Regions from separate parts of the Homo sapiens genome. Here region 1 is linked to region 2. Evidence: promoter capture Hi-C in 16 types of primary human blood cells and fetal thymus (Javierre and others, 2016). All regions are on one chromosome and are shown on one strand. The core of a region is centred on a gene start or on the middle of the fragment in contact, and the rest is flanking DNA. Distances in the headings are between cores, read along the strand shown.

Region 1 (4,421 bases), core at 162-2,661, 290 kb before region 2:
GGGCCACACACCCAGAGGCAGTGCCGTGTCCCGGCTGGGAGGGTTCCTGGGAAGCTCTGCTCAGCCCCAGTCTCAGTCATTTCTAGAAACTGTGTTTTCCTCCCTGTGACGTCACACGTGAAGGAAACGGAAAAGGGCAGTGAGTCCTTCGCCCCGCGGCGCCGTGCGCACGTCAGCCTTCAGGGTGATTCCGCTCCTCCAGAGGGGCAGGCGCGGGTGTGGGGGGTGGGGCCCAGGCCCATCCTGAGGGGTCCCAGGCATGAGGGGCTCTGAGCTGTGTCCTGGGGTGGTCTGGGCCATGGGGAGGTTCTGGATCATGTCTTGAGAGGTCTGGGCTGTGTGGGGGGTCCAGGCCATGTCCTGGGGGTCTGGGCTGTGTCTGTGGGGAGTCAGGGCCATCCATGTATTGGGGGTCTGGGGCAGGGGGGGGTCCAGGCTGTCTTGGGGAGTCCGGGCTGTGTGGAGGGGTCCAAGCTATGCCTTTGGGGATCAGGCCTGTGGGAGGCTCTGGGTTATGTCTTGGCGGGGGTCCAGGCTGTGTCTTAGGGGCTGGGCCATGTTCTGGGGACGTGTGAATCCTGGAGGGTGGGGCCCCGGTCTCGCGGGTGGCTGTGTCCCTCGAGTTCAGGCAGCACCTCTCGGAACTTTCTGGATTTGCGTGCTGGCGTCTGTCGGCCTCGATACCCACAGGCTGCGCCCCTCTCAGCACAGGAAGTCCTGGAGAACCTGAAGGACCGCTGGTACCAGGCGGACAGCCCCCCTGCAGACCTGCTGCTGACGGAGGAGGAGTTCCTGTCGTTCCTCCACCCCGAGCACAGCCGGGGAATGCTCAGGTTCATGGTGAAGGAGATCGTCCGGGACCTGGGTGAGGCTGGGTCCAGCCTGGCCGGCACGCCAGGACCCAGGACCGACTGGCAGGGGCCGGGCATCGTCGGGAGGTCGGGGCAGGTCCTGCGGGAGCCCCAGCCTGGGTGTGGGCTGACCCATTCCCGTCTCGCAGACCAGGACGGTGACAAGCAGCTCTCTGTGCCCGAGTTCATCTCCCTGCCCGTGGGCACCGTGGAGAACCAGCAGGGCCAGGACATTGACGACAACTGGGTGAAAGACAGAAAAAAGGAGTTTGAGGAGCTCATTGACTCCAACCACGACGGCATCGTGACCGCCGAGGAGCTGGAGGTGAGCCCTGGCGCAGCCGTGTCCCGGAGCCGGCCCTGCGAGGTGCTGTGGCGGGAGGGGCTGGTGGATCTGGGCCTGAGGCAGGAAGCTGTGCTGGTGTCTGGCCTGAGACTCCATCTGGGCTGGTCACTGGGGCGTTTGCTCAGCGGTGTCCACCAGGCTGCATGGCCGTTGTTGGCGTTTAGGTTCAGACGGATCAGAGACAGGCGAGCCTGGCCGGGCTCCATCCTCAGCCCCTTGCGGAGGCGTCAGGGTTCTCACAGCCCCTTTTTAACGGGACCACAAGGGGAAGCTCATGCTGGGCCCAGCATGGAGGCAGGTCCAAGGCCCAGCAGGTGCAGGTGGGCGGGGCGGCCTGTGCCACATGGCTGGAATTTACCACCTTCCTCTGAAGCGTTTTCACTGGTATCATGTGTAGGCTTGTTTTTCTCCCACTGCTGAGTGAGTCATCTTGTTTTTATGTAGAATCCTGTGATTCCTGGCGACAGCCAGTGGGCCCGGCCCAGGTTAGGGATCCTTCAGAACTGGGGTCCAGGCCTGTGTAGCCCCTGTGCCCCGTTACCCCTGCTGGCCCCGGGCAGGCCTTCCGGGGCCCCCGGCTTCTCCCTGCCCTGTGTTTTCATTTGTGCCGCCTCCCTTCGGGAACCTTCCAGAACGTGCCCACACTCCCGCTGCAGCCAATAGGCACCTTAAATAGCCACTTCGTGCGGCTGGCCGCGGAGCTCGGAGGGGGAAAGGCGACGCTGACCTGTGCCCCGCTCGCCCGCAGAGCTACATGGACCCCATGAACGAGTACAACGCGCTGAACGAGGCCAAGCAGATGATCGCCGTCGCCGACGAGAACCAGAACCACCACCTGGAGCCCGAGGAGGTGCTCAAGTACAGCGAGTTCTTCACGGGCAGCAAGCTGGTGGACTACGCGCGCAGCGTGCACGAGGAGTTTTGAGCGCCCGGCCGCGCCCCGCGCCGCCCCCCACGCACCACCGGGGCGGCCTCGCGGGTGACTCCGGGCTCCGTGGCTGTCCCGGACCCCACCTCTTCCCTGCCGCCCGCCACCGGCCGACCGACCGCGGCTGCCCCAGTTGATGAGCGGCGTGTCCCCTCTGCAGCGCGCACCCCGGCGGGGCTTTGGCTGTGACGCGGTCGGGGCGCGGGGCTGGGCTGTGGCCCCGCGGCGCCGCCTCCTCCCTGGTCCCTCGAAATCGTGGCATCTCACTTCTGAGAACGAAATCTCGCTTCAGTCACTCTGCCGAAGGCGCTGACGGCATCGCGGCCGGAACCTCTGGGCCCGGCCCCTCCCAGGGCCGCCGCTCCGTGGGAAAAAACAGCTCCTCCATTTCCTTGAAAACTGAACGATTATTAAAAATAGATTAAACTTCGCTGGAAATGAGTAGCCAGGAAGTTCAGGGGAGGGTGCCGGGTCCTTCCCGGGCCTGGCGTGTCGGAGCCACCCAGGTCCCGCAGCTGCCGCTGAGAAAATGCAAATATTTGTTGTGACAAGAATCACATACATTTACTTTAAATATAGTTGCCTTTTTTGGTCAGCTTCATTCTTTGGGCGTGAAACAAAACACAACAGCAGCGTGCTAGGTTTGTGGTTACAGTTTCCACTGGAGCGCTGGAGGCTGGTGCTGGGTCACGTGGAGGGTTGGAGGTCATGGCCGGTTCGAGGTGATTCTCCTGGCAGGTGGCAACGGGCAGGGGCTCTGGGAGGACGGAGGGCAGCGCTGCGTTTGTGAGTAGGGGTCAGGGGGCAGCAGACGTGCCCACTGAGTTTGGGGTTTGGACATTTAAGGCAGGAGACAGAGCCGCCTGGGGGTTTTGGGTGGAGGATGGCAAGGTCTTTGGGTGCAGTGGGGCAGGCCTAGCCCCAGATGGGGCAGAGAATGGGGTGTGTTAGGACGGCTGGTGGGGGTCCTGCTCTGTGGCGTGTGGGGGCCCAGGCTGTGTCCTGGCTCTCCCAGTGGGAGCTCAGGGAAGCCGGGAGTGTGTCCTCTTCAGTCTGCCCTGTGGTGCCCATGTGACCGGCCTCTGCCCTGAGCCCACCTGCCCAGGGGCCCCTGTGGGGCCGAGAGGGCGGGTTGGCACCTGGGCTGGTTCCCAGGCAAACGAGATTCACAGAGCCACGGCCAGCGCAGGTGGTGGGAGGATGGTCCCACGCCCTGCTCTAAGGGGCTGTAATTCCCTGGAGCCAACCTTCGGTGGCCTGGACTCTGTCTTTCCCCATCCGTGGCCCCAGGCCACAGCCAGGGACCATCATAGCTGCAGCAGCATTCGACGCCCTGTGCTGAGGGCCGTGCACCCAGAGGTGGGAGGTGTGAGCTGAGGCCATGCTGTGCTGGACATGAAGGCGGGGGGACAGCTGGGTATGTGGTGGCACCTGGCCCTTCAGAGGCCCCAGCCAGCTCCAGTCTGGTACTGGAGGAGCAGTGGCCACTCATGGGCTGCCCTGTGCCGCCCGCGACACTACTGTGTGGAGCGGGGAGCCCAGCTCCTGGGGATGTGGTTCGAGCTGCAGGCTGCCTTACAGACCTTGGGGGTCCTGAGCTCTGGGTCAGTGTCCAGCCTCCTGTGGCCACGCCACACCCGGTTCCATGGACACAGCAGGGCTTTCTTGGACCTGTGACCTTAAGCCCAGGACAAGGAGACCTGAGCTTCCTGGGCAGCTTCAAGCAGGAGGGGCCGTGCCCCATCCTGGGGCCATTGCAGTTGCCAGCAATATGCTGGGGGTGCCCTCTCCATGGTGCACGGGCCCCACTCACTGCACCTGTGGGCAGATGTGGCCACTTAGGCCCCAGGAGAGCAGTGTTGCCCACCAAGACCCCCAGTTCACCTGAACCTCCAAGGAACCAATTGCAAATGTAAGCTTTTTCTCACTGTCAGTGGGAAACCCTTGTGAACGCTGGGTGGAACCTTCCACAAAATGCCAGAACTTTCCTCCTCTGCCCACCTGGGTTGGGGTGTGCACATGCAGGTACACACACTGTCTGGGATGCTCTGAGCCCTTCCAGGGTCCTCTCTACTTGTGGGGACGTGGGGAGGGTGACCAACTTAGGGACCCTCAGTCCGAGGGCGGGTGGCCTCTCCCTCCACTCCCTCCCTCTCCAGGGCCAGCGGGCTCCACGGCTGGGAATTTCCCCACGGGTGGGCCGAGGACAGGCAGCTGTTTCCTGTGCTCCTGGGAGGAGGGGATTTCCAGCCCCTTCCCTGCTGCTCTGTTCCTAGAGGCCCCTCTCCACTTGCAA
Region 2 (4,239 bases), core at 1,717-4,216:
CCTCTCCTACCCTTTCCTGGAAGAAGGGGTTCCTGAGTGTGTCAGGAATTGCAGCCCCCACCCCCAGCAGCCATGGCCCTAATTGGCTCCAAACTAGTCCTTCCCAACAGGCATTCTTCCTTTTCAGATCAATCCTCTAACCCTTGCTGCCCAACTAGGGGGCTGGAGACTGGGTAGGGGGTGCAGGTGCCTCCCTGAGCAGAAGGCAGCTCCCAGCATCCCCGTCTCTCCTGCCTGCTCCCTCAGTGAGGGTGTCCATAGCTGTCTACCCTGGGTTGGGGCCTTGAACCAGCCTCCGACTCCAGTTCCCTGGACACCAAAGGCCCACACTGCAAAGACTCTGCCCCTGGCTAGCCTCTGCGTCCCTAGGACACACTTCGACGTCCAGGCCCTTGCACCCTCTGGCCTTCAGCACCCAGAGACACAAGTCACTCACACCCAAGCCTGTAGCTCCCCAAAATGCTGTCGTCCCAGAATCACACCTCACCAGCTGGGCCAGAGAACACGGTGACCCCCAAGCGGTGACAGGGCACAGTGCCAGGCCCACGTTGAATTACTCCTCCCAGGGAGAAGACCCTGACCCAGGACTCGAGGATAAGCAGCTAAAAGGCACCCAAGGGGAGGCTCTAAGACAAGCGCGGCCCCCCTGTCTCCACCGGGGAGGGCGCTCGGGTGCCCGAGGACTCCTCCCCCGTCCAGGTAGAAGGGCTGGGAGAGCACGAGGTAAAGCCGCTTCCCCCTGCCCTTCGGAGGCTCCCTCCAGCACACCCGCAGGGGTGAGGTTAGGACTCTCGATCCTGAAAACCCTGAAAACCGCAGGGACAAGCTCCGCAGGGGAGAGTAACTCCCAGCCCCAACCGAGCCCCGCATCTCACCACCGGGGAGGATATTCGGCAGCCCGGGCAGTCGCAGATCGGAGGATGCACCTGCAGGATCCCCTTGGACATAAGCGTCTTCAGACTTTTCCCTGCGAGCAGAGCCGAGGCAGACCCTGTGAGGGAGCGGCACGCTTCTGCGCGCAGTCAGCGGCAGGGCCAGTACCCCCTCCCCGGCTCGTGGACGAAATACACCCCGAACCCCACACCCACCTCGGCCCGACTTCCCAGCCCGCTTCCCGTCCCACCCTCGCGAACGCCGCAGGGATCTGCTGGGCTCTGCAACTCCAGCCCGGGTGGAGCGCCCTCCCCCGACGAAGGGCCTGGGCGTCCCCACCCGGCGCCCCTCCTCCCGCGCTCCACCCTCTCCCCGGCCCCGAGGGAACCGCAGGCCGGGCCCAGAAAGGCTGAGTCCCGGAGCGGTGAGCGGCGCCGTCGGGACCCTCGGCCTGCGCGGCAGGAAGAGGCGGCCACCGCGGAACCACGCACCGCTCAGGTCCCGAACTTTTTAACTCCCCGCGGCGCCTGGCGCTCACCGCACCCCCTGTGTCCCGGCTCAGGCGCCCCCGCGTCGCACCCTTGGGCCCAGGCGCCCGCAGGCGCCAAAACAGGTTGTGTGACCTGGCGCCGCCGCTCGGGCTCCGCGCGCGCCCCCGCGCCGCCCCGCAGCCTCCCCCGCCGCGCGCTCGCACCCGGCCGCACGTGCGCCCCTCCAGTCTCCCCCGAACCCGGGGCTCCGCGCCCTCCCAACCCGCCTCCTGCCCGCTCTCTCGAGTCCCCGTAAACTTCCTTCGGGCCTTAAGGCCCAGGAGCCTCGCAGAGACCTTCCGAGCGGAGGGAGCGGCCCGCGAGCCCCAAGCGCTGTGGCCCAAGCTGGGGGGAGGTGCAGCGGGGGGCGATCTGTCCGTGTTCACCGAGGCCTCCGCGCGCGGCGGGGGTGTCCCCGCGCAGCCCTGGAGCTGCAGCGCCCCCTCGGCCGAGCCGGAGGCTCCCGGGTGTCCGAGTCGGGTAGGGGGTGGGGTCGGGGCCCGCGGGTCCCGGCAGCGAAGGGAGGGGCGGCGGCACCTTTGTGGCGGATGCTGCGCTTCCAGTCCTTGGCCGTCTCGCGGCCGCTGACGAACTGGAACTCGTTGGGCGTGAGCCACTCGCCGCGGTGGCGGATGGACGGGCCCTTGCTGCCCTGGCAGAGTTTGCGCACGTAGAGCAGCGCGCGGTTGGCGCCGCACTCCACCTCGATGCACGGCTCGCCGTTGTCCAGCAGCGGCTGGAAATCCGGGGCCGCGGCCGCGGTGGCCGAGAAGCGCTCGAGGGCCAGCGGGTCCCTGGGCAGGTGGAGGTGCGGGGCGGCCTCGTGCAGGCTGAGGTAGGCGCGCGGGGGGCGGAGCGGCGGGGCCAGCAGAGCCTCGTAACCGGCGGCCGAGGCGGGCAGCGAGGCGGCCGGGGGGAGGGCGGCCGCCGCGGGCAGTGGCGCCAGGTAGCCTGGCAGCGGCGGCAGCGGCAGCGCGGCCAGGGTCGGGTGGAACGTGGCCAGAGCCAGGGCCAGGTCCTCGCGGCCCGGGAACTCCTTCTTGACCGCCGGCATGGCGCCCCGGTGGCTCCGCAGCCCCGCTCTCCGCCGGCGGCAGCAACTTATTCCGGCCCGGGCTGGAGTTGGGTCGCGGGGGCCGGGGAGGCGCCTGGCCGCGCGCCCACGCCGTCCGCTAGTGCGCCCCGGCGCCCGCAGCCGCCGCCTACGCGCCGCCCGCCAGGCCTCCCCGGACTGCCCAGCCGGCCGGCGGGGCCTCAGAGGCCGGAGACATGGAGCTGCTATCGATCCCGGATCGACTCGCCGAGCGCCGCAGTTCCAGGGCCTCGGGGCTCCCCGGGGCGTCTGGAGTCCCGCGCCCCGGCCACCAGCGCCCGCGCCCGGGGCAGTCCCACGCCCGGCTCGCCGACCCACCCGCCAGGCCGAGCCCGGCAGCGAGGAGTCGCGGAGTCCCCGCCCCTCTCGGGGGTCCCAAGCCCCCGCCCCGCCGCCCGGGCCGCGTCAGTCGTGCACCCGCGTCCACTGGCGCGCGCCCGCCCGGCGGGGACTTGGGAGACTCCGCCGCCGACGCCGCCGCCACAACTTGGCCCATTTAAACGGCCCCGGCGCGGCGGGCGGCGCGGGCTCCCGCGGGGGGTGCGTGACGGCCGACTCGGGGCATCCGGCGGCGGCAGCGGGACAGGGCTGCGGCCCCCGGCACTATCCCGAGTACCGAGTCACTGCGAGCGGCTGGAATCCAGGACTCCGCGCGGGACTGGGATGGGCTGGGCTGGTCGCGGACCGGGCTCCTCTCGGAGGGAGGGAGCTGGGGGCTGCTCGCCGGGGTGTGAGCGTGCGCCGGCGGCTCTGGGACTTTGCGCAGCGAATCTGATGGTGGGCGTTGGTGTCCGGGAGGGCGTGGGTGGTCTCAGTGCACCTGCAGGGAGCGAGGTTGTGGATTTGTAGTGTGTTGCCTGGGCAAAGTGTTCTGTGAATAACAGGGCAGCACCTCCCCGCCCACTCGTGCCCCTTCCTATGCACTTGACAGGAGTGAGTTCGCCCGAGCCACGGAGTTCCTGTTCAGTCTTTTGCAGAAGACGCTGAGACAGAAAGGTCAAGTAACTCTCCTGAAGTCACACAGCTGTTTCAAATGCAGGATGTCTCACACCAGGACCGCGCCAGGACCATGGTGTGGGGCAAGAGCTTCCTGTCACCCCACACCTCCCAGCAGGAAGGTGGTGTGGATCCGAGGCAGGGTGAGGGTGGGGGATAGCGGGTTGGCAGAGTGCACGGCCTCCCACTAGGAGGAGCAAGGCTAGTGAAGCAGGACCGGCCACACCACGTCCACCTTGGTGCCTTCTGACAGGTCAGTCTGGGCCCCAGTCCCTGGTTCCTGGTGAGCTTCCCATCACCCCCCACCTCCCTGCGTGCCCAGATCGGCATTGCATCTGGAGCGTTCCGAAGAGAAACACAACCTGGGGGCGTTGGTAACAGCAGGTGAGACAGCCTTGTCCTGCGCTGCTGTGCGGTGTTGCATCCACTAGAAAGGGGCCTCCTGTTCTGACCCTGGCCCCTGCCCTTGAGATGCAGCTGGCATGTCCCTGTGGGCATCTCCCAGAGCAGGTCCAGGGGTGAGTGGGCCACAGGCCTGTTTGCACAGGTGCCTTCTTCGAGGGAGGGAACAGCCCACCACCACCTCCTGCCAGACCAGCTTCCTTGAGCATAAACCTGACCCTGGGTGACCACGCTGGGCTCCTTCACCTTATCTCACCAGAGGCTTCTGCTGGTCCCACAGCCAACCCGCGGAGTGAGGTCTGGGCCAGGAGTGCTCTGCTCAGGCAAGGAACATGCCCAGAAGCC

The links. Contacts are between HindIII fragments. The CHiCAGO score rates a contact against its expected background, and 5 or more counts as called.
Region 1: a contact is called between a fragment that was not itself captured here and the fragment with the promoter of SAMD11 in region 2, in 2 of 17 cell types (erythroblasts and neutrophils). The highest score is 6.6, in erythroblasts.

What each region holds. Positions count from the first base shown.
Region 1 is chr1:1,215,213-1,219,633 of GRCh38, reverse strand. SDF4 (stromal cell derived factor 4) reads left to right here. Exons shown (of 7, transcript NM_016176.6): 5 at 707-865; 6 at 1,001-1,176; 7 at 1,946-2,703. The coding sequence ends at 2,122. Among named protein-coding and RNA genes, the nearest start is that of TNFRSF4, 3.3 kb to the right of the region's middle. The HindIII fragment of the contact is 5,266 bases long and covers 1-4,044 here.
Region 2 is chr1:922,650-926,888 of GRCh38, reverse strand. SAMD11 (sterile alpha motif domain containing 11) reads right to left here and starts at 2,966. Exons shown (of 14, transcript NM_001385641.1): 1 at 1,941-2,966; 2 at 876-967. The coding sequence starts at 2,457. LOC107985728 (collagen alpha-1(III) chain-like) reads left to right here and starts at 1,285. Exons shown (of 5, transcript NR_168405.1): 1 at 1,285-1,371; 2 at 3,428-3,614; 3 at 3,746-3,876; 4 at 4,154-4,217. RefSeq lists enhancers at 1,131-1,677, 3,343-3,921. The HindIII fragment of the contact is 23,463 bases long and covers 1-4,239 here.